Linked DNA regions of Homo sapiens: region 2 is linked to region 1. The links are contacts of gene promoters, found by promoter capture Hi-C in human tissues and cell types (Jung and others, 2019). All regions are on one chromosome and are shown on one strand. The core of a region is centred on a gene start or on the middle of the fragment in contact, and the rest is flanking DNA. Distances in the headings are between cores, read along the strand shown. Region 1 holds the start of KIF2B (kinesin family member 2B). Region 2 has its middle 190 kb from the start of KIF2B.

The links. The method cuts DNA at HindIII sites, captures the fragments that hold promoters and counts their contacts. A contact is called where the count stands out against the background at its distance.
Region 2: a fragment that was not itself captured here is called in contact with the fragment with the promoter of KIF2B in region 1 in 1 of the 25 tissues and cell types used here (dorsolateral prefrontal cortex).

The regions. Positions count from the first base shown.
Region 1 is chr17:53,820,918-53,826,228 of GRCh38, reverse strand. KIF2B (kinesin family member 2B) reads right to left here and starts at 3,302. Exons shown (of 1, transcript NM_032559.5): 1 at 1,036-3,302. The coding sequence starts at 3,195. The coding sequence ends at 1,174. It overlaps LOC124904030 (a long non-coding RNA gene), which reads left to right and starts at 3,303. Exons shown (of 2, transcript XR_007065851.1): 1 at 3,303-3,505. The HindIII fragment of the contact is 8,156 bases long and covers 1-5,311 here.
Region 2 is chr17:54,014,813-54,020,407 of GRCh38, reverse strand. No RefSeq gene overlaps it. Among named protein-coding and RNA genes, the nearest start is that of KIF2B, 190 kb to the right of the region's middle. The HindIII fragment of the contact is 4,329 bases long and covers 1-3,985 here.

The DNA.
Region 1 (5,311 bases), core at 2,053-4,552:
AAATACAATATATGGTAAAGAGTGTGTGAGGAAAAAAAAATTAAAGACACTATAGTCAACAAAGCCCTACTTAGGCAAAACGTGCACACACACATACACACACCCCTACACACATGCACTTTAATCACTTCTAGGGAGTACAATACTTTGCCATTTCAACTCAAATGTTTCTTTTAAAAAGTCCCTCTCAATTCTAGGCTCTCATACATGGTTTCAAGGAAAATCCAGCCTCCCAATATGATTAGATCTTAAAAACCATTTGAATCTAAACAGCAATGCAAGAGAAAGATTCATGAGCAGTATCATTAGATTTACTCCATTGTGTACCCCTGGTGTCTTTCCAATCTATTTCCTTTAACTCACAGTGTTTTGCTTTCCCAGCTGGAAATTTAGTGTATCTGCTTTCATCACAGCTGGTTTCTTCTACAGCAGGGTTTCTCTACCTCGATACCATTGATGTTTGCAACAGGGTAGTCACTTGCTGTGAGAAGCTGTCCTGTACACTTCAGGGTCCCCAACCCCTGGGCTGCAGACCGGTAGGTCTGTGGTCTTTTGGGAATCACACTACACAACAGAAGGCAAGCTGGCAGTGAGCGGGCATTACCGCCTGAGCTCCCCCTCTTGTCAGATCAGCAGGAGCATTAGATTCTTACAGGAGCATGAACCCTATTGTGAACTGTGCATGTGAGGGATATAGGTTGTTGCATGCTCCTTAGGAGACTAATGCCTGATGATCTGAAGTGGAACAGTTTCATCCCCAACCCCACCCACGGAACAACTCCCTTCCACAAAACCGGTCTGTGGTGTCAAAAAGGTTGGGGACTGCTGCTGTACACTTTAGAATGCTTAGCAGCATTTCTGGTCCTCAAACTACTGTATGCCAGTATCCTCATCACCCCCAGTTGTGACAATCAAAAATGTTTCCAGACATCGCCAAATGTCCTGGTAGGGGGTGGGGAGGAACCATTCCCTGTTGAAAACTATAGTTCAGCAGGATGAAAACAAACTACAGAAATACAGAGGCAGAAGAAAGAGCATGTTTCCCATCAGTGTATTTTAAGATGTTTTAAGCTTCTCAGGAGGATCTTTAGATAATTTGGACAGTTTTCCTGTATAAGAGTGGTGGAAACTGCAGCAATGCAGCATTTCGGACCTGATCTCTCGCCATTGGCTTCACTCTACCTTGCTCTTCACGTGGAGGTCAGCTAGTAATAATTTCAGTTTCTTTTGGATCTCGGTCAGAGCATCAATTTTCTGCTCCAAAATGGACAAAGACCGGGCAATGCAAAAATCAATATCATGGTGTACTCCACCAGCTCTCTCCTGGATGTTTTCCAGCCATTGGCTAGATCCCTTCCCTGAAATTGTGGTATCCTTCCCTAACAGAGTGGGTAATGTTTCAACCTCTTCAATCTCTTTCTGCTCCTCACTCTGTACATAAGGTATTTTAATAAATTCATCCCTCTGAAGGGACATTTCTGAATTTCCGATGTGACTTTTTAACATCCTTGGTGCCTCATGTCCAATCGGATAGTGGCCACGATGGTAGGGCCTTACATCTACATTTAATTTTTTTACTCTGTTTGCATATCTTAAAGTGTTGAGAGTGTTTTCACAAGAGGTCATCCCCGGAGAGATGGTAGCAATCATGCAAGTGGAGGAGTTCTGGCCTATAAAGGAGTCCCGGAGCACCAGTGTGAGTTTGCTGGCTCTGAATGGGGTGTGAGGCTTGTTCTGACCCAAAGCCAGAATACATTCTTTGAGGGCTAGAAGACTCTTGTTAATCTCTGCCCCTTCCAGCTGCCTTTTCCGGCTGGCCTTGGTTGTATCTGCTCCTCTTTCATTCCCAGCTAAATCAACGAGGGAAAACTTGCCATGCATTATCCGTCCTGACTTCAGGATGATCTGGAACACTGCATGGCTCCTGGATGAGTGAGCGTTGACAGGTGTTTGCCTGGAAGTCCGACAGCTATTCCCTATTTCCACCAGGTTCAGCACTTCCTCCACACAACACACCTCTTTCTCCTGCAGCCCGACCACTTGGATTTGCTGATTGCCATCCTCAAGGACTTGCAGCTTCTTCTTCCAGTTCAACAAATCATACACCTTGCCCCCATAAATCTCAAAAAATGTCCCATAGACTTTGAGGTCCAGCTTCTCATATGTGGAGTTTCTGAGCAGGAGAAAGACATCCTGTGCCACCAGAGCATAAATGCCCTTAGAACAATCTTGGGCCGTTCCTGAAAAGTCTCCACCCATGGTGTACGTCTTCCCACTTCCCGTCTGCCCATAGGCAAAGCAGGTGGCCATGCCCTTGCGGAAGATGGACTCCACCAGTGGCTGGGCGGTGAACTGGTACACCAACTCGTTGGAGGCTTTGTCATCGAAGGCATGGTCGAAGCAGAAGGTCTGGTTCTGCAGGTAGCGAGTGAGGTCCACCTTTTGCTTGGACTCATGCACCATAACCACATTGTCCGAGGGGACGGTGATGATATCCAGGTCCTTTAAGGTTGTCTCTCGCTGGTTGAGAGGCCGCTTCCTCACGCAGACGCAGATGCGATGTTCTTGCGGGGGCTCCAGGACTGAGATCTTGCTGCTGTCCAGGTGCCTGCGATACTCTTCGATCATGTGCATGATTTCGTAGTTGGGGTTTCTGGTATTGACATCGAGGGCGCGTCTAGCTCGGATCTCCTGCTGCAGCCGCCTGCGCTTTTCCCGCTGCTCCTGCAGTTTCTGGATTTCCCAGAGGCAGGGAGACTTTTTCTGCTTCATCAGACAAGGTTTGCTGGGGACCCTCACATCCAGGCTGTCCCCTGAGGCTGTTTGGTTTTTCTGGGGGATCATCGCAACCCATTTCGTGGCGGTACGCTGGTCCCTGATGGCCGAAGAGGGCGCCAGAGCCAAGGGGGATAAGGGCGGGGGCGGCATGGGGTGTTCAGCAGAGTCCAGAGCTGGATTCAGCAGGAGTATGGTCTCCAGGTCAATCTTCTTGCCTTTTTTGACTGCTTTCTCCACCCACTCTACCGTGACCCAATAGTTTTCTCTGTTGATCTCCGTGACCACAGCGAGGTGGATCCGCTTGTCACTGCGCTGGATCGCCACGTAGATGCCCTCTTGGATGTCTCCGAAATGTGGCTTCAAGGGTTTCAGGGGCGAGAGACATGGGGATTCAGGGAGGCAGAACTGGCTGGCCATGGTGAGTGATGGAGGTATCAGGGAGCGCTCCAGGGCCCTTGGGGTTGGAGCAGCAGGACCCAAGCCAGCCTGAAGCGCCCGGAGCACTGAGCAGGGTTGCAGTCTGTGCCTGCCTTTGTGAGCCTAGCGCGCCGGGGCCCGGACTGGGGCCACTACGTCACAAAGGGATGAGATGAGGCGGCAGAACCTAGGGCTTAGGAGTGAATGGTACGGGAGCACAAAGGGATGGAGAGATTGTTCTCTGCCAGTGAGGGTGAAGGGGTTGGAGGAGGATGTGGCGTGCTCTCCGGATCATGGCGAGAAAGAACAGGTAACAGAGAAGCAACGGGAACCATGGCGTTGAAATTTAATTTATATGTCCCGTGTACATTTATGCCTAAGCATAAAAGGAGGCCTTGGCTGGCAGTCTCAAAGCTCAGTGCTTTAATTTGAGAATTGCTATGAAGTTTCCTTAAACTTTAACTCTCCAGTGATCAGTGGGAATAGATGAAGGTAGAGCTATTTGCAAATCTCAGGACTCGATATTCAACAGGATCCCAGAAAGGCTCCTCAAACCCGCCATCTTTGTTTTTTCACCTCCTTCAAAACGTGTAACTTGTTTAAGAGTCACAACTTAAAGTTATTACAGTTTAATCGGCTTTCTCATTACAAAATCAAAATGAGTAGAATGTAGCAGGTCGTTGTGGTAATTTGCTAATATGAAACTACCTTTCGTACAGCACCTGGGTTTGCAAACACAACATGTGTATCACATTCCAAGTGGCTCTGACAGCTATAAAGTGAGTTTTGTTGTGCTGTGGTCACCACCATTTTTGAGATTAGTTCAGTAATTACCTTTCCAAACTCCTTCAGTAATTACACTTCTGGCCTCATTATCCATAATTGGGAGAGAAAGAAAAGGCATTGTGTGGAAAGAGATAATTAATCTTATACTCCCCCCACCCCTGCAGTACTTGTGTGTGTCCTTTAGAAGTTGTTAAGCAAGGCTGGAAGGCAGCTAAGACCATCGGATGCAAAAATATATTTTGCCAAGATTGCAATATTTTCATGCATAAGAATTAGCTTATAAAATAAATGACATTGACTTTTAGACAGGCCAAGCTCAGAGTAAGGGTGATGCCTTACGTTCAGCTCACTAGCAACACCCGTGCATGTTGTCTTTTGGACTGTTGAATTTTATCATAATTATAGCTCCAAAGTAACATGAAGTAGCAAGTTACAACCTTCCCTAGGAATAAGGGCCTCTATAGAAATAAATTCTACTATAAACTAACTTTTCTGTTCAGTCAGTCTAGTAAAGCTTAGATTTTGAAAAGAAGGTGGAAGGAGGATACTGGATAAATTAGATAAGTAAGCAGTGCTCATTTCAAGAGGAGGTTGTATGCAGGTGGAGGGAGAGGAGAAAGGGCTTTAGGCAATTGTCTTCTAAAAAATATCATGTTTTATTTCCCCAAATTATCAATACTTAAAGTTGTGCTTTAAATCAGTTGTTCTTTCTTGGTTTCAAGGCCATGATGTAGATATTCTTAATACACTGTATTTGTCATTAGCACTCTGTCATTCAAGTTGGAGTACAGTGGCCTGATCATAGCTCACTGCCACCTCATACTCCTAGGTTAAAGCCATCCTACCATCTCAGCTTCCTGAGTAGCTGGAATTACAGGCATGTGTCAGGATGCTTTGCTATTTTCTTTCTTTGTTTCTTTCTTTTTTTTTTTTTTCTTTTTTTTTTTTTTGCTAGGGATGAGGTCTCGCTGTGTTGCACAGAGACTGGTCTCAAACTCCTGACCTCAAGGGAGTCTCCCTTCTCACCCTCCCAAAGTGATAGAAATATAGGCTTGAGCCACTGAGCCCACATAATAGTTTGTTTTGCTTTGTTTTTTTAACCGTTACCTTTGAAAAAGCTGGGTCTCTCTCAAAATTATGAAAACTCTAGACCCTCCAGGCTAGCCATAGGGTTTTCATCTTAGCTAGTAATGTTTTAGACAGACAATGGATGAGCAGATCCATGATAATAGTGCCAAAATCAGAGAGAAAAGTTTCCTTTTACTCCCTCTTTCTCTCCAACATGTTCATACAGGTTTTCATAGCAATTTCAGGACTTTTTTTCAGTTCT
Region 2 (5,595 bases), core at 572-3,071, 200 kb before region 1:
GAATTGAATAAGTATCCAAGCTAGAAATCAAGTGGAACAGAAAAAAAAAATAATTCTTAGACATAAAAAGCACCAAGAAAGTTAATCTTCATAGACCATTTTTGAAAGACTGATTGAAAGAGGTGTTCTAAAAAAAAAAGAAAGGCATATATATTTTAATTTCTGAAAGTTTTATGCCAGAACTGACTTTGTTTTATTTGTAAATATCTCAGGCTTTTCTTTTGGACACTATCAGTATTTTTCTTTATCCTTGGAATTCAAGAAATTTACCCAGATATGTTTAGGGTTTCTTTTTTTTTTTCTCATTAATTCTGCCTGGAATTTGGTGTGTAGTTTAAATTTGCAGATGTATATATTCTTCAACTGGGGGAAATTTTCTCTTATATTTGTTTAATAATATTATTTTGCTCACATAGTTTTTTTTTCTTCTGCAATACTATCTTTCAATTAGGTTTTCTTCACATGCACCCAATTATCTTATCTTTTTTCAATTATTTCCATTATCTTGCATTTATGCTTCATTCTTTGAGGTATTTCTTCTCGTTTGTCTTCTAGGCTAGTAACTCAGGTTTTACTAGTGAATAGTCTCTCTTTTGTATCATCAACTGTGTTTTGTTATAAATAAATATTCCCAGAAATTGATTTTATTCTCTGATTGAATCTTCATAATTTTCCAAATGGCTCTACTAATTTACATTCCCACCAACAATGTGTTAAGTGTTCCCTTTTCTCTACATCCTCACCAACACTTTTTGTCTTTCATCTTTGTGGTCTTACTTTGTGTTTCTCTGATGATTTGAGATGTTGAACATTATGTATGCAATCTGTTGGTCCTCCTATGTCTTCTTTTGAGAAACACCTATTCAAGTTTTTTGCCCATTTTTAAATACAGTAGTTTTCTTGTTATTGAGCAATTTGAGTTTCTGATATAATTTTTATGTTAGTTCCTTATCCAGTGTATGGTGTGCAATTGTTTTCTCTCATTCTGTAGGTTGTTCTTCACTCTGTTGATTGTTTCTTTTGCTGTGCAGAAGCTTTCTAGTTTGATGTAATCTCATTTGTCTATTTTTGTTTCCGTTGCTGGTGCTTTTGAGGTCGTATCCAAAATTTTTAGCCTAAACCTATATCGACAAGATTTTCTCCTATGTTTTCTTCTAGAAGTTTTATACTTTCAGGTCTTACACTTAAGTCTAATCAATTTTAATTGATTTTTGTATGTGGTGAGATATAATGGTCTAATGTCATTCTTCTGTATGTGGATATCCAGTTTTCCAATATCATTTATTGAAGAAACTGTCTTTTCTCCACTGTATGTTCTTGGTGCCTCTATTGAAAAAAATTGGCTATAAATGGGGAGTATTTCTGGGCTTTTTATTCTCTTCCATTTGTCTATGAGTCTGTTTTTATGCTAGTACTATGTATTTTGGTTACTATAGCTTTGTAGTTTGTCTTCAAATTAGATAGCATGATTCCTCCAACTTTGTTCTTTTTGCTCAAGATTGCTTTTGCTTTTGGGAGTCTTTTATGGTTTGATACAAAATTTAGAATTGCTTTTATATGTTTCTGTGAAGAATGTCATTGGTAGTTCGATGAAGATTGCATTGAATCTGTAGATCACTTTGGGTAGTATTGACATGTTAACTATATTAATTCTTTCCATCCATCAATATGGGATATCTTTTTATTTATTTGTGTCTTTTTTGGTTTCTTGCATCCATGTTTTATAGTTTTCAGTGTAGAGGTCTTTTACCTCTTTGTTTATATTTATTCTTATTTTATTTTTTAAATAACTTTGTAAATAGAGTTGTTTCTTGATTTTTTTTCAGATAGTTTGCTACTAGTGTATAGAAATGTTACTGATTTGCATACACTAATTTTGTATCCTGCAACTGTACTGTTTGTTTATTATTTCTGACAGTTTTTTGGTAGTTTTAAAAAATATATATATGGTTACATCATCATCAAACAGAGACAATTTAACTTCATCCTTTCCCATTTGGATGACTTTTATTTCTTTATTTTGCCTACTTGCTCTGGCTAAGACTTCCAGGGCTTTATTGAATAGAAATAATGAAAGAGATAATCCTTGTCTTTTTTTAGATCTCAGGGAAAAGCTTTCAAGTTTTCTCCATTCAGTATGATATTAGCTGTGGGTTTGTCATATATGACCTTTATTGTGTTAATCTACTTTCTTCTATACCTGATTTGTTGATAGTTTTTAATCATGTTGGAATATTGAGATTTGTCAAGTGATTTTTCTGCATCTACTGAAATACTAATACACGTTTTGTCCTTTCCTCTGTAAAGTGATTTATCACATTTATTGATTTGCATATCTTGAATTCTCCTTGCATTACCACACTCCGTAATTCTACCTCATGGTTTCTAGCAGGCGTGTCCAATTAACATATTTGAAAACACCTTCCAAGATGTTTTCTCCCAATTTTCTCCATTTACTAAGTAGTATCACCATCCACTTAGTTTTTCAGACCAATAATCTAGAAAACATTTAATACCATTTCCCTTCTCACATCCGTAAATAAATCACATTCTGATTTAAACTCTACCTTTAGATTATTTTTCTAATCTGACCAGTTGAAGTGGCATTCTTGTCTGGGGTAAATACCCAGGGTTGGTCATCTTGCTCCACGAAAATTTAGGACAGAAACACACACAAGGAGTTTAGGATGGGAGGTTTAATAGGCAAAAGAAAGAGAAAGAAAAAGAAAGGAAAACAGCTCTCTCTCTAGTGAGAGAGAGGGGCTTCCCAGAGGAAAAGGCTGGCTTGAGGAGGCAGTGTCTGATTTATGTAGGACACACAGATTGGTTCAATCAGGTGTGACGTTGACACAGTCTGGGGAAGGCTGGCCACTCCACCCTAATCTTATTATTCAAATGGGCTTCCAGTTGACCAACACCATCTTGTCCACTCCTTGCTGTACATGTGGCTGGCAAAGGGAAGGGAAGATGGAGCCGCCATTTTGAACATGCCTGGTCACAGGTAGTATTCCTCTTCTGGCAACTATGTCTGCAGCTCAATTTTACAGGCTGCTCTTTGTTAGAAAGGAAAATGATTTTGGGCTGCTTTTTATTAAAAGGAAAATCATTACCGAGGATTTCCGTACCCTCTCTATCTGCCTAAGTAATTTCTTTTTAACTCCTGTATCACAGTTTTCACCCATTTTTCAGGTAACACACTAAGCTAAGCCTTTCTTATCTTTCATCTCGACTAATATAGTAGCCACTTTACTAATCTCTTTGTTTTTACTAACCCCTTAAAAACAGTATTAAACCAAAAATCATATTGATCTTGTAAAACTATAAATAAAATCACATAACTCTCCAGCTCAAAACCCTCTAATGGCTTCATATTACATGTAAATCAGTCCCAAGTATCTTACCACTGACTCTAAGACTGAATGACTTGGCTGTGACCACCTGTCTGACCTTACCTTCTAACCTCCACTGTACTTCCCATTACTCTCTGCTATGTAGTCCTTGCTTTTTCTCTAACTTGCCAAACTCATTCCTCTATGAAAAACAAGTTCCTTGTGATTGTTCTTCTTTTGTCTAGATCAATCATCCCCCAGATTTTTCCAGGGCTGGCCCCCTTTATCTAGGTCTCTATTCAATGTTATGTCTCCAGACATTTCACCAGTCTCTCTTTGCTAAACCAGAAGTCATCCCCTAATCCATTCCCTTACCCCAGAATGTTCCAGTCTATGAGCCATTAATTACCAAGCCTTGATCCCCTGCTCCTTAGAATGGCAAGGCAAGGCCTAGGGCTACTGTACCCTCTTATTCTCCGCCCACCACCAGTTCTCCCTGACCACAAACGGCCTTAGCCTGCTTAACTCAATGTGCTCTTTAAATGTTAAGTATTATTTATTGTTTGTCATTGCATGAATAAGTTTGGAAAGCACACTGTTTTATCTTTCTCTGTTTGTTTCTTATTGTACTCATTAATATAAATGACTTGGCCAAGTAACATTATATCAATTAGTCAAATGAAATTATATTATATATTTATATGCTTACTTGTTATTGTCGGCCTTCCCTAGTAGAATTTGTACACCAAATGACAGGATTTCATTCTGTGTATACCCCTGTAGTTCATATCCCGTGTATACCTGTATACCCCCGTAGTTCAATTGAGAATTTCTTTTTAACTTGGATTTATTGGCGTGATAGTTAATGAGTGTCAACATGATTGATTTAAGGATGCAAAGTATTGTTCCTGGGTGTGTCTGTGAGGTTGTTGCCAAAGGAGATTAAAATTTGAGTCAGTGGACTGGAGAGGCAGACCCACCCTTAATTCAGGCGGGCACCATCTAATCAGCTGCCAACACAGCTAGGATAAAAGCAGGCAGAGGAACATGGAAGGACTAGACTTGCTGAGTCTTCTGGCCTTCATGCTTCTCCTGTGCTAGATGCTTCCTGCCCTCAAACACCAGACTCTAAGCTCTTCAGCTTTTGGACTCTTGGACCTACACCAGTGGTTTGCCAGGTTCTCTCTGGCCTTTGGCCACAGACTGAAGGCTGCATTGTCAGCTTCCCCACTTTTAAGGTTTTAGGACTCGGACTGGCTCCCTTGCTCCTCAGCTTGCAGATGATCTATTGTGGGACTTCACCTTGTGATCCTGTGAATCAATACTCCTTAATAAACTCCCTTTCATATATGCATCTATCCTATTAGTCCTGTCCCTCTGACAAATACAATTGTATTATAATTTAAATATAGTAGAATTCACCACATTTGGTGTAAAGTTCTGTGAGTTTTGGTAAATGCATACAGTAGTGTAACAAATGCCACAGTCAACCTATGAAGGAGATTGTAGTCAGCTCTCTCCAGTTCAAGCATCCAGCAGCAACTAAATTCGTTTCTGTCCCTATAGTTCTGTCTTTTACAAAATATTATGTAAATGGAATCATATCAGATATGTGATTTGCAAATATTCCCTCCTGCCCTGTTTTGTGTTTTAATTCTCTTCACGTCTTTTGAAGAGCAGAAATTTTTAATTTTGAAGAAGTTCAATTTATGATGTATTTCTATTATGAATTACGCTTTTGGTGTTGCAGCTAAGAAATCTAACCAAATGCCACAAAATATTTTTCCTAAATTTTCTTTAGAAGTTTTCACGTCTTCCTCTCTCTGACTCTGACCTTCCTTCTCTCTCATAAAGATCCTGTGATTACATTGGGCTCAACCAGATAATCCAGGATAATCTCCCCATATCAAGACCCTTGATTTATTTATATGTGCAATTTATTTTCCGGTATAAGGTGATGTATTTAAGGGTTCTGGTTGTTCACATGTTAGTATCTTCAGAGAGTTATTATTCAGTCTGCCATGCCCCTCAAAGTAAATAGCTCTAAGACTCTGTAAAGGGTATGATCCAACTATATTCACATGTCAGGTGACAAGATTAAGATCTATGAGAGAAGGAAATCATATTAAGTGGCCCTAATATTGCCCCAGGTTTCTGCCTCAGTGTACTTTCTGGGCTGTGGCATAGGAAGAGAGAATCCAAGCAGAGATGAACTAAAGAAATTGGGAACAGAATTTAGCAAGGCCGAGGTCTCTCTCCCTTTTGT